Regions from separate parts of the Homo sapiens genome. Here regions 2, 3 and 4 are each linked to region 1. Evidence: promoter capture Hi-C in 16 types of primary human blood cells and fetal thymus (Javierre and others, 2016). All regions are on one chromosome and are shown on one strand. Each heading gives the region's core, a stretch centred on a gene start or on the middle of the fragment in contact. The rest is flanking DNA. Distances are from core to core; before and after follow the strand shown.

What was found. The method cuts DNA at HindIII sites, captures the fragments that hold promoters and counts their contacts. A CHiCAGO score of 5 or more calls a contact.
Region 2: a contact is called between a fragment that was not itself captured here and the fragment with the promoter of GPN2 in region 1, in 16 of 17 cell types (activated CD4 T cells, M0 macrophages, erythroblasts and 13 more). The highest score is 11.8, in activated CD4 T cells.
Region 3: a contact is called between a fragment that was not itself captured here and the fragment with the promoter of GPN2 in region 1, in 1 of 17 cell types (fetal thymus). The highest score is 5.1, in fetal thymus.
Region 4: a fragment that was not itself captured here is called in contact with the fragment with the promoter of GPN2 in region 1 in 1 of 17 cell types (total CD4 T cells); the score reaches 5.4 in total CD4 T cells.

Annotation. Positions count from the first base shown.
Region 1 is chr1:26,888,611-26,891,644 of GRCh38, reverse strand. GPN2 (GPN-loop GTPase 2) reads left to right here and starts at 1,362. Exons shown (of 5, transcript NM_018066.4): 1 at 1,362-1,959; 2 at 2,520-2,676. The coding sequence starts at 1,549. It overlaps GPATCH3 (G-patch domain containing 3), which reads left to right. Exons shown (of 7, transcript NM_022078.3): 7 at 419-1,157. The coding sequence ends at 635. RefSeq lists enhancers at 1,019-1,288, 1,799-1,968, 1,324-2,201. The HindIII fragment of the contact is 6,723 bases long and covers 1-2,431 here.
Region 2 is chr1:26,604,206-26,607,117 of GRCh38, reverse strand. No RefSeq gene overlaps it. Among named protein-coding and RNA genes, the nearest start is that of MIR1976, 51 kb to the right of the region's middle. The HindIII fragment of the contact is 3,407 bases long and covers 1-2,912 here.
Region 3 is chr1:26,496,161-26,498,860 of GRCh38, reverse strand. No RefSeq gene overlaps it. Among named protein-coding and RNA genes, the nearest start is that of HMGN2, 25 kb to the right of the region's middle. The HindIII fragment of the contact is 2,002 bases long and covers 330-2,331 here.
Region 4 is chr1:26,556,510-26,559,216 of GRCh38, reverse strand. RPS6KA1 (ribosomal protein S6 kinase A1) reads right to left here. Exons shown (of 22, transcript NM_002953.4): 12 at 2,499-2,563; 13 at 2,117-2,219; 14 at 280-410. Among named protein-coding and RNA genes, the nearest start is that of MIR1976, 3.3 kb to the right of the region's middle. The HindIII fragment of the contact is 3,642 bases long and covers 1-2,707 here.

The DNA.
Region 1 (3,034 bases), core at 113-2,612:
AACCCAGGAGGTGGAGGTTGCAGTGAGCCGAGATCACGCCATTACAATCCAGCCTGGGTGACATAGTGAGACCCCATCTCAGAAATAAATAAATAAATAAAGTAAATCTGACTTTTTTTTTTTTTTTAAAGAGTAAGCCCTAAGGCTTAACAAGATCATTCATACCCTTTGTTGGAGGAGTTTGGACTTGATGGTTACTATTAGGAAGTCTGTAGTGACAGAATGAAAATTTTATATGAGGCCCCTTCTTGCTGGCACTGTCAATGGATAGATAAGAGGGCTGGAGAACAAAGACCCAGATTTAAAGCCTCTGTCTTTGGACAAACCAGATATGTAGTAACTACTTCCCCGTCCTCTCCCAACCCCTTTAACTGGAGTTTGAGAGCAGCCTTCTCACTGAGAGCCCGTTTTTATCCAGGTACCATGGAGAGAAGCTACAGCCATTTGGGCAACTGAAGAGGCCCCGTAGAAATGGCTTGGGGCTCATCTCCACCATCTATGATGAGCCTCTACCCCAAGACCAGACGGAGTCACTGCTCCGCCGCCAGCCACCCACCAGCATGAAGTTTCGGACAGACATGGCCTTTGTGAGGGGTTCCAGTTGTGCTTCAGACAGCCCCTCATTGCCTGACTGACCGGGTTGGGGGCTTCCTTTCATAGCTACATGATGAAAACCCTCTGCCCTGGCCTCATCTACCACTGAAGCAGAAAGGAGTCTGGGAGCAGCAGTCTTCGTGGCTGGTTCAGGGTGTTTTGTTCCGAGCCTGCCTGCCTGCCGGTTCTATACCTCAGGGGCATTTTTACAAAAAGCCCCCTCCCGTCCCCTCCCCTTGGATATTAGGGGTAACGACCGCTTGTCTTTGGTCTCTAACCCTAATCTCTGGGCTTGCCCTTTGCCTCCTGCAGAACTTTGAAAAGCTGGGTTGAGTGAGGCTATCAGCACAGCCTTCCTTGGGGACTCTGAAGGTGTCCCCACGAAGGCCAGAAAGGGGGAAAGGGACCTGGGCGAGGAGAGGATTTGTGGTGCTTGGAAGAGCCGGCCTTGGGTGGGCCCTCCACCGCCTCTACCCTCACTGGGTGGGACTGCCAGCGGAGAGTCCGCGGGAGGTGGCTTGGGTGTGCGACGTCACGGAAGAATAAAGACGTTTACTACTGGAGCTCCCTTACTTTTCTAATTCGAGTCTGAAGGTTAGAGAAATTCCGAGAGCGATTTTCCCGCAAAGACCCCACATTCGACCCACTACCCGCGAGAGAAATGCGGCTGCGCCGCCCGCCCCTCGGCGTCTAGCTTCGTCCCCGCCGTGAGGGCGGGACTTCCTCTCGTTGGCTCGCCGTTTCCGACGCTGTCCGGAAGTCGAGTTAGTCTAGTTAGTATCGGCCTGTTATCTCCTTTTGCGCGACACGGTCTCAGCTGTTCCGCCTGAGGCGAGTGACGCTGGCCGCCAACGAGGTATACGTACTGGGACCCTCGCCCTCAGTCTCGTCTCCGGCGCGGCTACCTGCCCCGTTTTCCCTGTGAGTTGACCTGCTCCGGGCCGCGGGCCGCCAATGGCAGGGGCCGCTCCGACCACGGCCTTCGGGCAGGCGGTGATCGGCCCGCCGGGCTCAGGGAAGACCACGTACTGCCTGGGCATGAGTGAGTTCCTGCGCGCGCTGGGCCGGCGCGTGGCGGTGGTGAACCTGGACCCGGCCAACGAGGGGCTGCCGTACGAGTGTGCCGTGGACGTGGGCGAGCTGGTGGGGCTGGGCGACGTGATGGACGCGCTGCGCCTGGGGCCCAACGGCGGCCTGCTCTACTGCATGGAGTACCTGGAAGCCAACCTGGACTGGCTGCGTGCCAAGCTCGACCCCCTCCGCGGCCACTACTTCCTCTTCGACTGCCCAGGCCAGGTGGAGCTCTGCACGCATCACGGCGCCTTGCGCAGCATCTTCTCCCAAATGGCGCAGTGGGACCTCAGGGTGCGTCTCAGGGCGGGGAGGCCCATTTTGCGGATGGAGTAACTGAGACAGGGAGGACAGACGCCACGCCCCCATGTCACACAGGGAGGTAGGGGCTGGGTCGCTTTGGAGTAAAACAGGCATGAGTTCAGAATCTGGCTCTGCTACTGACTGGCTGTGTGGTGTTGATAAGTCAGTTCATCACTCTGAACCTCAGTTTCCTCACGTGTAAAATGTGTTAGTAGCCAACTTGGCGATTTTGGAAGTATGGAAGGGGTTAATGTCGAAAGTGGCATGGAGATTGTTGTAAATTGGTGGGCAAAAGTAAATGAAAGAGTGGAGTCAGATGCCATGGGATTTAAACCCCTTGCCCACTGGGAGGCTCAGTGCAAGACCTCTTGTAAGAAAAAAAAAATGACTCCTATTTCCTGGGAGAAGGAAACCAGGGTGGTTATTAGAAAGAAACAGAGGCAGGAGACTAATGGGGAAAGCTTCCCCTCTGTCCTCAAGCCCTCATTCTCATGAGGGAATGCTGATCCCTGTTTCTCCAGGCCACTCTCACCCTGTCTATTCCCTCCCAGCTGACTGCCGTCCACCTCGTGGATTCTCACTACTGCACAGACCCTGCCAAGTTCATTTCAGTACTGTGTACCTCCCTGGCCACCATGCTGCACGTGGAACTGCCCCACATCAACCTCCTTTCCAAGATGGACCTCATTGAGCATTATGGGAAGCTGGGTAAGAGCTTCTGTTCCAGGCGAAGAGCAGGGCAGCAGCTGGGCTAGAATGAAGCAGACATCTCAGCTGAAGGTAGCTGCCTCTGGTGCCTTGCGTGGTCTGGTGATAGTAGCCACAGGCAGGTTCTAACTCCTGCCCATTTATTTTGTGCCACTCTGTGCTAGTTACCGTTGTAGATTTTGGAGACAAGAGAGCTACAGATGGTGTTAGGTGTTACAAAGGAATTAAAGTGATACGACAGTGAATATTTGGGAGTGAAGTGAGTGAGCTTTGGAGTAAAACAGGCATGAGTTTAAATTCTGGATCTGCCACTGAATCATCGTGTGGTCTGGGTAAGTCAGTTCATCTCTCTGGACCT
Region 2 (2,912 bases), core at 298-2,797, 280 kb after region 1:
AATTGCCTCCTAACTGGTCTCCCTGCTTCAGCTCTTCCACTCCTACCTTCTATTTTCTACACAGCAGCCATAATAATCCTTTAAAAACATAAATCATATTTACAACTATTATGTACCCATAAATTTTTTTAGAGGCTGAGTGTGGTGGCCTGTGCCTGTAACCCCAGTGTTTTGGGAGGCCAAGACAGGAGGATCACCTGAGGCCAGGAGTTTGAGACCAGCCTGGGCAACATAGTGAAACCCGATCTCTTCAAAAAAATTTTAAAATTAGCTGGCATAGTGGTTCACACCTGTAGTCCTAACTACTTAGGAGACTGAGGCAGGAGGATCACTTGAGCCCAGGAGTTCAAGGCTGCAGTGAGCTATGACTGCGCCACTACACTCCAGCCTGGGTGACCCCGTTGTAAAAAAATTAAATAATTTTATGTCATATCATAAAACATAAGTCTTTCCCCTACTAAAAACCCTCCAGTGGCTTCTCATCTCACTCAGAATAAAAAACAGAGAGGTCGAGCACAGTGGCTCACACCTGTAATCCCAGCACTTTGGGAGGCAAAGGCGGGCAGATCACTTGAGCCCAGGAGTTCAAGACCAGCCTGGCCAACATGGTGAAACCCTGTCTCTACTAAAAATATAAAAGTTAGCTGAGTGTGGTGGTGCACACCTGTAATCCCAGCTACTTGGGAGGCTGAGGCAGGAGAATCGCTTGAACCTGGGAGGCGGAGGTTGCAATGAGCCAAGACTGTGCCACTGCACTTCAGCCAGCCTGGGCAAAAGAGCGAGAGTCTGTCTAAAACAAAACAAAACAAAATAAACAAAGACCCCACAATGATTTACAAGGCCTTACAAGTCTGTCCCCTCCACTCCCACTTTCCTGACCTCTCTTACATCTTTCCCTTGGCTTATTCTATTTAGCTACAATTGGTCTCCTTCAACAAGGAAACTCCTGTGTCAGGACCTGTGCATTTGCTGTGCCCTCTGCCTGGCAAGCTCCTCCCCCTCATATTTATATGGCTTGTTCTCCCTCTTCTTTTATGTCTCAGCTCAAATCACCTCATCAGTGAGTTCTTTCTGTCTACCCTTTGTAAACTAAAAAAACTCTGTCCAGCCGGGCGCGGTGGCTCACACCTGTAATCCCAACACTTTGGGAGGCCGAGGCGGGCAGATCACAAGGTCAGGAGATCGAGACCATCCTGGACAACATGGTGAAACCCCATCTGTACTAAAAATACAAAAAATTAGCTGGGCATGGTGGCGCGTGCCTGTAATCCCAGCTACTCAGGAGGCTGAGGCAGGAGAATTGCTTGAACCAGGGAGTCGGAGGTTGCATTGAGCTGAGATCACACCATTGCCCTCCAGCCTGGCAAGAGAGTGAGACTCCATCTCAAAAAAAAAAAAAAAAAAAAGACTCTGCTCAAACCATAATTTCTATCTCCCTTAACACTGCTTTATGATTCTCAATACCCTCATTATCATTTAATACACTATAGGTCTACTTACTTATTATTTTGATCCTTCCCATTAGAATGTAAGTTGCATGAGAATAAGAACTTTATTTTATTTTCTGTTCTTAGAACACTGTTTTCAGCTCTGATAACACTGCCTGGCACATAGTAGGTGAATAGAGGCAGTTGACTAAAGAATAGGACCGATGTTTTCAATGACTGAATTAACAGAAAGACAAAGTCATTCTTCTGAGGATGGGAAAGCATGTTGTAAACTAGGAAATGATATAAAAAGTTTATTTCTTCCAGTTGGTTCTTGATTTCTAAGTCTTATGATCCTCTTTGAAAACCTTTACTAAATAGAGTAGACTCAAATGATCTTGGATGCAATGCTGACTCTTGGTAGGCCACCAAATACATAACTGGGTGTCAGGAAATGCGGTCTTGCCATCTTTCTCAGGCTCACTGCCATAGCTAGCAAGGACCTCTTGCTCCTTTCTTAGGTATCCTTGCATGCCTTTGGCTTTTCAGAATTTTTTATTCTGGGGAATGGGAGTGATGGTTGATGCCCTGTCTGTAGTTGAGATTCTGTACAGGGAAAGTCATTCAGTTAAATCAAGCAGTATTGAATTCCTAATTGACACAAATGAGACAGACAGACAGCTGGAGGAGTGGGGGAGGGACAGAGAGCAGGTGCCCTGAATAATGGACAAAGAAGAGAGGCAGAATATAAATTGAAGCTAATGGTGAAGAAGCTCACTGTGAGTCTAGATTTTGTGCCACAAGAAAAGTAAACTTTGCCACAGCTTACTTTACGTAGAGCGGAAAGGATCCAGTGGTGTTTTTGCCAAGGATAAGGCAACAAGTTCCAAATGCTTGTGCCATTTTGGCTGCCCTGATGGCCAAGTTTGCCTCTTTTCAGGTACCATCATTTGTGAGAATCACTCTTAGTAAAGTCCTCATTCTGTGTTTTTTTCCAAAACAAACTTAATCACGTAGTGTTTGAACGAAAGAAACTGCTTTGAAAATTCTATTTGTCAAACAAAGGGATTCTTAACACGTAAGTTAGGAAGGTGAAGGGAAGGATGTTTCTAGATCTTCAAATGCCAGACATAGGGGGCATTCCTGCAGAGAAGGCATGTATCTTGTCAACTCCAGAATTTCCTCTGAGAATGCTGGGGGCTTTTTTCCTCTCAGTCCCCTCTTGATCAGAGCTTTGACTCCCCAGCTCAGACAGTTCTTTTCTGTAGCCATGGGAATTGCTCCCATAATTAGCAGTGTCTCCTGCCTGGAACTCAGACAAGTAAATGTTCAAACCTGGCAGCCGATCCTGGGAAGGAGAGCTGATTAAATCTTTCCTGTCGAGAGGCACCTTTTTGATTTGAATGTGACACCTACATCCCCCACCTCAGGTTTGTCTGGGGGAAGCAGTTTTGCCCATATCTTCATAACTGAAGATCCTGGTAT
Region 3 (2,700 bases), core at 81-2,580, 390 kb after region 1:
GTTGTGCCATCCATGGCTTACTGCAGCATCGACCTCCTAGGCTCAAGCAATCCTTCCACCTCAGCCTCCCTAGCAGCTGGGACTACAGGTGTGTGCCACTATGCCTGGCTAATTTTTGTATTTTTTGTAGAGCCAGGGTTTCCCTGTGTTGCCCAGGCTTAGACTGTGATCTTAATACTGTGCTGTCAGAAGCCATTCAGAGTTCCAAGCTGGGGGGTGACTTTTATTCAATGACGTGAACAACAAATACTTCTTGAGCACCTACTACATGTAGAATGCTGGGGATTTTATAGTAACCAGACTCTTGCAATCTCTGTCATTGGGAAGCTTATACTCTTTTCTTTTCCTAATCAAAGTTATATATGCACAAAGTTTAAACAGATAAGTTTTTATAAAAACAGCAGGCTGGGCATGATTATCACACCTATAATCCCAGCACTTTGGGAGGCCAAGGTGGGAGGATTGCTTGAGCCCAGGAGTTCAAGACCAGCCTGGGCAACATAGTGAGACCTCCATCTCTACTAAGAAAACAAAAAGACATCGCCCATTCCACTGAAGCAGAGGCACCCATTTTCAACTCCTTTAACTGACTATATTTTATATTTATCTCCATATCTCGAAATAAATGTGCTTGTTTTGCTCTTTCTTGATATTTCAGTTATAGGCACTATCTCTTGTTTTTCTACCATGGAAAATAGTTTTATTTTTTGGGTTTTTGTGAGACAGGGTCTCACTCTGTCACCCAGGCTGGAGTGCAGTGGTGCCATCCATGGCTCACTGCAGCCTCGACCTTCCTGGTTCAAGTGATCCTCAGCTCAGCCTCTTGAGTAGCTGGGACAATAGGTGCGCACCACCATGCCAGGCTAATATTTTTTTCTGTTTTTTGTAGAGATGGGGTCTCACTTTTGTTGCCCAGGCTGGAGGACGATAGTTTTAACACTTCCCATCACCAGCCATACGGATAATCCCCATCTCTCTAAACTGCCATCATAATTTTGTTTTGTTCAATTCTCATTGTTTACATTATTCGACGGCGCTATGATTCCTTTCCTCTACAACTTTTTGTTTTCCTGCAGCTCTTAATTGTCCTGTTTTACCACTTGCTTAGTGTATTCCACTCCCTACCAGGTATCTAAATCTCCTCTCAAGATGTTCAGACAGGCTGGGCGTGGTGGCTCACGCCTGTAATCCCAGCACTCTGGGAGGCCGAGGCAGGTGGATCAGAGGGTCAGGAGATTGAGACCATTCTGGTTAACACGGTGAAACCCCCTCTCTACTAAAAAATATAAAAAATTAGCTGGGCGTGGTGGTGGGCGCCTGTAGTCCCAGCTACTCGGGAGGCTGAGGCAGGAGAATGGCGTGAACCCTGGAGACGGAGCTTGCACTGAGCCGAGATTGCGCCACTGCACTCCAGCCTGGGAGACAGAGCAAGACTCTGTCTCAAAAAAAAAAAAAAAAGATATTCAGACAAATCAGATACCTCAGGTTGGTCTCTCTGGAAGGTACACAGAAGAAGAGGTTTGTTAGGGATCAACACCTATGAAAGGAAGTGGGAGGAAGCAGGATTGGGCAGAAGTCAAACTACAGTGCAGGCCTGGCAAAGCCTAGGCCAACCTGGCAAGGAGCTCTGGAGTGAGTTTTGCCCATCAGAGTGTGCCAAGCCTGGCTGGAATGGCCAGGCCTTTATACCACTGCCTGGCTCAGTCACCTGATGGGGGCCGCCCTGGGGAAGGATGAGGAAGGATGTGGAAGGATGTGATCTTGGGCGAGGAGGCTGTCTGCATCTGAGGCCAGCCCTGGAGCTGACAGCTGGAGGCTGTCTGCTGTCCAAACTCCCTGCAGCTGGGCAGCAGGCCCTTCCTTGAACAGCGGGCGGGGTGGGGGGTGTTGGGAGGCTCATCTCCATGACTACCACATCAATCTTCTATCACTTTCATGTTCTTGAAGAAGTTTTCTTGGAGTCCTCTGTTCTGCTCCAGTCTGGAGTGTTTGCCCTTTATACCTGGTGAGCAGGTATCACTCTGGGCAGGGAAAGATCCAGATTGTTTAGGGTCTAAAACTTATGCAGGCATGGTGTGGTGGCTCAGAATTTTGGGAGGCCAAAGTGAGAGAATCTAGGCCAGGAGTTCAAGACCAGCCTGGGCAACGTAACAAGCCCCACTTTCTACCATCAGTCATTCAGTCCAAAATTATCTGGGTGTGGTGGAAGTTGAGGCAGGAGGATTGCTTGAGCCCAGGAGATCAAGGCTGCATTGAGGCGTGTTTGCGCCACTGTATTCCAGCCTGGGCAAAAGAGTGAGGCCTTGTCTCAAAAAAAAAAAAAAAAAAGCTTATACATTCTGAGTCCTTTTATTTATTTAGAGACAGTCTGGCTCTGTCATCCAGGCTGGAGTGCAGTGGCGCCATCTTGGCTCACTGCAACCTCCACCTCCAGGGTTCAAACGATTCTTGTGCCTCAGCCTCCCGAGTAGTTGGGATTACAGGCGTGTGCCACCACGCCTGGCTAATTCTTTTATATTTTTAGTAGAGACAGGGTTTCACCATGTTGGCCAGGCTGGTCTCTAACTCCAGGCCTCAGGTGATCCACCTGCCTCAGCCTCCCAAAGTGCTGGGATTACAGGCATGAGCCACTGCTGGCCTTTTTTTTGTTTTTGTTTTTGTTTTTTTGAGACGGAGTCTCAGTCTGTCACCCAGGCTGGA
Region 4 (2,707 bases), core at 39-2,538, 330 kb after region 1:
ATGCCGGAGACACGACAGTCACTCGGCACCACCACCCTGGGCACCTCCTGACATGTACCCAGACCCTGGCTCTGTGCTGGGAAATGTACACCCATATCATCATCCAATTATCAGGGCCACTGTGTGAGGTGGGCCTTACTGTCCCTGTTTTATGTTGGAGGCCCTACTGGTCCCACAGTGGCATGAGGGTATGAACCTGGTTCTGTCCAACTCAGAGCCTGTGTACTCAGCCATTCTTTAGAAAAGGATAATGGAGCAGCAGCCCCCTGCCCCCCTCACCTGTACCACCGAGTGCAGGGGTGCCTGCGGGGCACGAGGCTTGCCGTCGTCTTCCATCAGGCCGGTGGCCACGAAGCTGAAGCCCCGGAACAGCTGATGGGCCCCAGCGCTGGGGGGGATGCCTGGGGAATCTGTACGGATGGAAGGAGAATGTGAGGGTACCTGAGGAGGTCCCCTCGACCCTGAGGCAGCCCAGCAAAGGGGGAGCACAGGGCCTCCAGACCTGCCTCAGGGGCTGGCCGTGGCGGGAGCCTGCAGAGGGCCTGTCCATCACAGGCCTTGGCCCAACTGCTCATATGTGTTTATTAGACCAGCCCAGTCCTGTCGCATGAGGAACAAAAAAGACTCTCACATCCACCTCCATCCCAGGCCAAGACAGTTCATCCCTTCCTGGATGCTTCCTCCCCAGCTTCCCCATCTTACGTCAGCCCCTTCAGGTCCATCTCTGCACAGCAGCCAGAGGGAAGGTTCCAACCACAAATCTGCCACCCTGCCCACACCTTTCAAAGGTTCCCGTCTGCCTTCAGGAGTAAGTCCAGCTCCTGAGTCTGGCAATTGAGGGCCCTGTGATCCTCACCTCCTCTCTCTCCATACCACAGCTGAGCCATGTTGGACTTCTCAGATCCTTAGAGGGGTCTCTGAGCCCTTGCACACACTGTTCCCTTTAACTAGATAATCCACTCCTTGCCTATCCTTCAAGACTCAACTCGCACGCTCCCTCCTCTGAGAAGCCTTGCCTGATGCTGCTCCTCCGGCCCCTGACTCCTACGAAGCTGCACTTGTCACGTTGCCCAGCGGACTGCTTGGAGAAGTGCTGTCTCTGTCATCAGAGGCGTGCAAGTGCAGTGAGAAAAGCACCCCCTTGTGGATCACCTGAGGTCAGGAGTTCGAGACCAGCCTGGCCAACATGGTGAAACCCCGTCTCTACTAAAAATACAAAAATTAGCCAGGCGTGCTGACACATGCCTGTAATCCCAGCTACTCGGGAGGCTGAGGCAGGAGAATCTCTTGAACCCAGGAGGTGGAGGTTGCAGTAAGCTGAGATCACGCCATTGCATTCCAGCCTGGGCAACAGAGCGAGACTCCATCTTGAAAAGAGGAGAGGAGAGGGAAGGGAAGGAGAGGGAAGGGGAGGGGAGGGGAGGGGAGGGGAGGGGAGGAGAGGGGAGGGGAGGAGAGGAGAGAAGAAAAGCACACCCTCTCCTAAAACATGCCCTTATAGGAGGTTTCCCAGAACATTCCACCCCACACCCACTGTCAATATCTGGCCAAAAAGTTAGGATTCACCAGGTTCCTTCCCAGAAGCTCCCTCACTGGCTTCTTGTAGCAACCCCAGGGAATGAGTGGGTTTGTGGCTGTGCCCTTGTTCCAGATAAGTACACGGAGGCCGGGCAGTCAGGGCAGCCAAAGCTGATTCCCATGCCTGTCCCTGACCTATGGGCACTGTCACCTCTGCTCAGCCACCACACAGTGTGGCTGGGTCAGATTCTTTCTCCCTGACGTGATGGTAAGCCTGATGTGTTTGGTCTTCCCAGTGGGCTGGAAGGTGCCCCGGGCAGGGGTCCTGGCTTTTCTACTGTGGCCTTCACCACCCACACATCCCCACTCCCACTCTCTCACCAGACACAAAGAGACCCACAGAGCCCCATAGTGAGAGAGTCGGGCGGAGTGAGACAGGGACAAAGTCAGTCCCACGGAGCCAGAAACTCACCCGCCTGCCCACCCGCATACCTCGGCCTGTCAGTGTCCCTGACTATCTCTGCCCCCCAAGCTGCCACCGACTCCCGGCTTCCCTCCTGTACCAGCCCAAGACAGACAAAACAGATAAGGGACGCACCCTTGGGTGTGCGGGACGTGAACTCGGTGTCAAAGTAGAAGGTGTCATCAGGCTGAGCCACTGCTGGCTTGAAGGGTGGCTTGATCTCACGACGGTATAGCTTCTGCACAGTGGGGTGGGCACTCTGGTCACCATGGCATCCTCAACAGCCCACCAGGAGCCCCATGCAGGAGGAGGTGCTGGGCTTGGAACATAGGCCATATTGCCCAGCTCTCGGAATTGCTTGCCCTCAGGAGGCCAGCCCTTGTCTTCAAGGGCAGGCTGTGACCCTCTGCTCCTGCGTCTGGGGCCCTCGCTGGCAGAGGCTCCCCTCCCACCACCCTTCCTGTGGCCAAGATGGCTGAGCCCTGGCCAGAGCCCTGGTGTGGGTGGACACACTCACATTCCAGTCAATGGTGGAGTAGAAGACATGCCGCTTGATTTCCTCTGCCCCATCAGGGCCGGAGCCTGAAAGAGCCCAAATGAAGGGTCTGTCCCTGGCTGGCACAAGTCCCAGATATTACCCTGCCCACCAAGCAGCCTCACAGGGCTCTGGGACCAGCTGCTGGAGCAGAGGGGAAAATGGGCTCACTCAGCCTCAAATCTACCCAG